2 separate regions of the Homo sapiens genome follow, and region 1 is linked to region 2. The links are contacts of gene promoters, found by promoter capture Hi-C in human tissues and cell types (Jung and others, 2019). All regions are on one chromosome and are shown on one strand. The core of a region is centred on a gene start or on the middle of the fragment in contact, and the rest is flanking DNA. Distances in the headings are between cores, read along the strand shown. Region 1 overlaps EPC1 (enhancer of polycomb 1). Region 2 holds the start of ARHGAP12 (Rho GTPase activating protein 12).

Region 1 (2,700 bases), core at 109-2,608, 400 kb after region 2:
CTCGGCTCACTGCAAGCTCCGCCTCCTAGGTTCACGTCATTCTCCTGCTTCAGCCTCCCAAGTGGCTGGGACTACAGGCGCCCGCCACCACGCCTGGCTAATTTTTTTGTATTTTTTAGTAAAAACAGGGTTTCACCATGTTAGCCAGGATGGTCTGGACCTCCTAACCTCGTGATCCGCCCACCTCAGCCTCCCAAAGTGCTGGGATTACAGGCGTGAGCCACTGCGCCCGGCCTAGTTATTCTTTAATAAATAAGCTTAATAGTTACTCTAGGCTGGGCATGTGGTTCACGCCTGTAATCCCAGCACTTTGGGAGGCCAAGGCGGGTGGATCGCCTGAGGTCAGGAGTTCCAGACCAGCCTGGCCAACGTAGTGAAACCCGTCTCTGCGTGGTGGCGGGTGCCTATAATCCCAGCTACTCAGGAGGCTGAGGCAGAAGAATCGCTTGAACTCGAGATGCCAGGCTGCAGTGAGCCGAGATTGTGCCACTGCAATCCAGCCTGGGCTACAGAGTGAGACACTCTGTCTCAAAAAAGACAAAAAAAAAAAAAGTTACTCTAATAAATCTTACTCTTATTTACTTAATAAATAAGTAGATAAATTTTTAAAACTTTAGTTCCAAATTTACCTTGTGTTTTCTTAAAAGATATTCTTTCTCCTACTAATCTTAAAAAACAAACAAACAAACAAACAAACAAGAACACATTTTAGCCGGGCGCGGTGGCTCAAGACTGTAATCCCAGCACTTTGGGAGGCCGAGGTCGGCGGATCACGAGGTCAGGAGATTGAGACCATCCTGGCTAACACGGTGAAACCCCGTCTCCACGAAAAATACAAAAAATTAGCTGGGCGTGGTGGCTGGAGCCTGTAGTCCCAGCCACTTGCGAGGCTGAGGCAGGAAAATGGCAAACCTGCAGAACCCAGGTAACTGACGTTGCAGTGAGCAGAGATCCTGCCACTGCTCTCCAGCCAGGGCGACAGAGTGAGACTCTGTCTCAAAAGAAAAATAAATAAATAAAAATAAATAAATAAAACCTTGAATTAATTTTTAGCTGCAGACTGTCACTGTTAACAAAACAAGTGTCAACCTATGAACATAATCAATTCTCACTGTAGAACTTAAGGACGTTTTATGATAAATTCAAGCACTATACTATATTGAGTATAGTCAGAAACTTCAACTTGTACAAGAGAATGAGATCTCTCTACACACTGTAAAACACAAAACAAAATTAAAAAAGAAAAGTGTGTATTACCATCACAGGGAAGCCTTGTTTTTACAGCTTTTCTAATTAATAGCAATAATTCATTTCAAAGATTATTTACAACACATACCTCACCCCACAATGGATATGAGATAACTCACTGGATCATTTTTAAAGCTTAATGCTATGTTAAATAAATCTGGTTTCTTCTTTCCTATGGAAACAAGAGAAAATTCCTAACAACTTTAATTTCCACAGGAAGGGGCTAATGGTTGCAAAACGTGACATAAAAGAAGGAAAATTTTATCTTTTCTTGTAAAGGTTCTGAGGCTAATATAAACATCACACAAATTCCCTTATTTCAGAGTGGAAGGAGATAAAATACATCAAGTAAAGTTTCCAGATAATATTTAAGATGTTCCCTACAAAAATATTAAGTAAACCATACTAAAAGTTTGTATCATGCATTAAATTTGGTTAGAATGAAAGGCTGATTCTTCCAAATGTAGGCAAAAAAAGAGTAATCACAATCTCATTTCAAAGAAGCAAACTGTGGCAGACACTGCCGGTTTTTTGGTGTTTTTTTTTTAACTCTATAAAGGCAAATTAACTTTTTCCAGTGATAAATGGTAGCAGAGGACTGGTGTTACAACACTTGTACTTAATTAGGAATTTATTTCAGTCTGACAATATCAACTACAGTATGCCTTCCAGTAAGTAAATGAGGTCTTTATGTTAAAGTCTGACCAAATCATGGTTAGAATGCAAAACTTACTTTTTAATAGTAGGAAGAAGGATAAAGACCTTAAACTCAGGACAGATGAAACATGGCTTGATGAATTTATACCTCTTATCTGTCTTCTCAAAGATCTCCAAAAAACAAAAGTACAGTTAACACACTGCAAGGAGTTGTAGGACAGAACCTACAATATCCCTACTTCCTTATCCTTCCTCTTCCAATACACAAAAACGAATACTGAAAGGGTTAAGTCTTTAGAGTTGTTCATCAAAATTTCTGGTATGATTGTACTTTCTGGCTGTCGTGTGGCTGGGAGGGGTTAGGTGCCTAATTCTGGCCAATTGTAAGTCAAAGTGACCTATATGACTTCTGAACCATGGCATTTAACTGTCAGTGAAAGATGTGAAATCTTTCAATGCACTCTTCCACCTGTCGCCAGGCTTGAGATGTTTACTGCTGTATCACCCTGGTTCCCCTGCTGATCCAGGACAATGATCCAAAATGTGACAAGAATAAGAAAAAAAACTTTGCGTATTTTATGCCACTAAGATTTTGAGGTTCTTGGTTATCACAGCATATCCTAGTCCATCCTAACAAATATAAATTGGTACCTGGAGATAGGGTACTATTATAACAAAAAAAACTAAAATATATGCCACTGGCTTGAAGGCCAGGCAGCAAGGAAACTTCTCAGAGGCTAGAAGGATGGCAATCCTTAACAAGCAGTACAAAATATTTGGTAAAAGTCAGTTATA
Region 2 (2,700 bases), core at 111-2,610:
GAACCTGAATCAGAACCCGAGTGAGCCTTCCTTCCTCCACCACCTCCCTTTAGGAACGCATGCCTAAATAGTCGATAAAATCTACTTCTCAATGTCATGATTAACCCAAAAGCCAGCCACAACCAATCGTGTTATTAGAGTGCTAAAAGCCTCTATCCACAACAAACACTCCACTTGGGATGACATTAAAACTTTCGATAAAGGTGTACTTTCAACGTCGTGCTTTAGCCTTTGAAAATACATTTACAAAACTGCAGCTGCAGTCAAAAGGAAAACATCACACGCCTCGAAAGCTGAAGGGCGTGCCTTTTTCTCTAACGAAGACCGTGTGGCCATTTCTTCTCAAAGGGTCTGCAGTCACTTAAGATAGCAACGCGTAAAGGACAGCCGTTCTGAGAAGACAACCAGCTCCCCTGAGATGGGAGGCGGGCTGCACGCTGGTAAAGAGGATTTTTCAATTCAAGGACTTTGAGGAGATTCCGCCCAGATAAGCTGGAGGGGAGCGAATGCACGTCCATCCAGCAGGGGCAGGGCACCGGGAAAGACCGCAAAGAAGAAAGTGTCCGGTTTAAGGTCAACAGTCCTCGAGGGACGCCCCAGGTGGATTCCCCGGGTGGGCTCCCCGGGTGGGTGGAGGCCTGCAAGCCCCACCGCGATTAGGGAGTGGGCCCAGGGCGCGGGAGGGGCCGGGCCGGCCTTTTGCGCACACACACACACACACACACACACCCGCCTTTTGCAGACACACGCGCGCGCACACACCCGCCTTTTGCACATAGACACGCACACACCCGCCTTGTGCACACACGCGCGCACTCTCCCGCACTCACACACACACCCGCGCACCCTCACACTCTCCTCCCTGGGGGCGGGGCGGGCGGGCGCTGCCCTCACACAGGAAGTCAGGAAACCCAGGGGGCAGAGAAGCCACAACTTCGGGCCATTTAAACCCTCTCGCCCACGTCAGCCAATAGGCTGCGCCGGCCCCCTCCCCCTCGGCGCCTAACCCCCGCGCCCAGAGCCCCTCGCTGCGCGCCCGACCTCCCTTTGCGCGCACCTCCGCGGCGCCGCCGCCGCCGCCGCCGCGCCTCCCGCACACGCCTCCCCCCGACTCCACCGCCCTCGGCGGGCACAGCCCGGCCCCGGCGCGCCTTTGTGCAGCGCCTCGCCAACCTGCCCTCCGTCCGCCAGGACCCGCGCCCTGCACCTCACCGGGAGCCCGGCGGCCTCGCAGCAGGCGGCTCCCTTCTTAGTCCGCCCCGCGGCTGCGGGTCGACGACGCGAGCCCGAAGAGCGTTCACACGGCTACGGCCGCGGCCGGCCCGTCCCCGCAGGCTGGCCTCTGAGGGAGGGTAAGTTACAGGGCACGTCGGAGCGCGCCGGCGCGGGGGCGGGGCTCACGTGACGCGCGGGGGCGGGGCGGGAGGCTCACGTGATGGCCCGGGCGAGCTGGGCGGGCGCGGGTCTCCGGGACGGTCTGGGGTGGCTAGGGGGTGCGGCGCCCGGCGGGGATCCGAATAGGGGGCAGCCAGCGTACGGTGTGGGAACTCGGGCCGGCGCGGGAGCCTGCGGTCAAGGGGGCTCAGCACTTTGTAAACAAGGAGTGGGAAGCGTTAAAAAAACGCTCGTAGGGAAAACCAGGGAAGGGCGGACATAGCGCCAGGGTGGCAGGAATGGAGCCCGGGCAAAGACGGCCCTGCCGTGGGCCCTAGCGCTCCCTTCGTCGGCCCCTGGAGCTGCGGCCGGGCGTGGGTCAGTCGTTCACGGGCCCGGAAATTCCACTGGGACACCCGAAAAAGTGCTGCACGCCGCCTGAGGGAGACGGAAAGGGACCCGGGGCACTGAGTCCATTGCTGGGGTCGCCAGGGTACGTGGCAGGACCCGCTGTGCACACTCGGGACTGAGGAGACCCCTGGGACGCGGAGAGCCGCTCCAGGGCAGAACCAGTCCGTCAGCATTTAGCCTTCCACGGGCCTGAGGGTGCGAGCCCTGCGGGGGCCACAGGGTCATTGTCCAAAGTCATCCCCGTTTGCACTGTGGCAGCACCGAACCCGGAAGTAACAGCTTTGGCAGGTCTTTGATGGTGATCCAGTGGCAGGAGGAGCTCAGCTGGAATGGGAATCAGGAAAGAGACCTGGCTTCTGCCATTTATTGGCACTTCACCCTTCTGAACCTCAGCTTTCAAATGAGAGCTGGCTTCTAGGTCTAGAATACAGTGAGTGTGAGAAAAATAACTGAGAGGCGTTGGGACTTCAGTAACTACTCATTCCTTAACCAGTTGTTGATTGTGCCTGTTGTGCCAGGATGAAATATTTGTTAATAATAGAGACCAGAAAGGAGAGGGGGGAAAAAACAAGCATATGTATGATTCAAGCAATGAAGAGCTACTCTCCGGAGTTGGCTCTTTCCTGTGCTTCACTTCGTACTTGAAGATGCCACAATGCCTGGCTTCCTTATCAACCAGCTGAACTCCGAATTGTGCCTTACAGGATGCGAAGAATCCGGTAGGGCAGTGGCAAGACTTTAACAGCTGTGGTTTACAACCTTCTTATTAAATTAAGTCTAATGCGAGCTAAAGTGTTAAGATAGTCTCCATTTAGAAAGGAAAGAGGCTTACAATGAGAATTTTTGAAAAATAAGCCTGAGACTGTGCTGTCTCTATCGTTGCATTTGCTTTTCACAGTCCTTGGCACCCACTGC

What was found. Contacts are between HindIII fragments. The study calls those that stand out against the background at their distance.
Region 1: a fragment that was not itself captured here is called in contact with the fragment with the promoter of ARHGAP12 in region 2 in 1 of the 25 tissues and cell types used here (lymphoblastoid cells).

What each region holds. Positions count from the first base shown.
Region 1 is chr10:32,324,002-32,326,701 of GRCh38, forward strand. The region is part of intron 1 of EPC1 (enhancer of polycomb 1); the gene reads right to left. Among named protein-coding and RNA genes, the nearest start is that of EPC1, 22 kb to the right of the region's middle. The HindIII fragment of the contact is 3,077 bases long and covers 1-2,700 here.
Region 2 is chr10:31,927,471-31,930,170 of GRCh38, forward strand. ARHGAP12 (Rho GTPase activating protein 12) reads right to left here and starts at 1,361. Exons shown (of 20, transcript NM_018287.7): 1 at 1,213-1,361. It overlaps LOC107984219 (a long non-coding RNA gene), which reads left to right. Exons shown (of 3, transcript XR_001747415.2): 1 at 1-573; 2 at 1,192-1,352. RefSeq lists a silencer at 1,033-1,532. The HindIII fragment of the contact is 14,818 bases long and covers 1-2,700 here.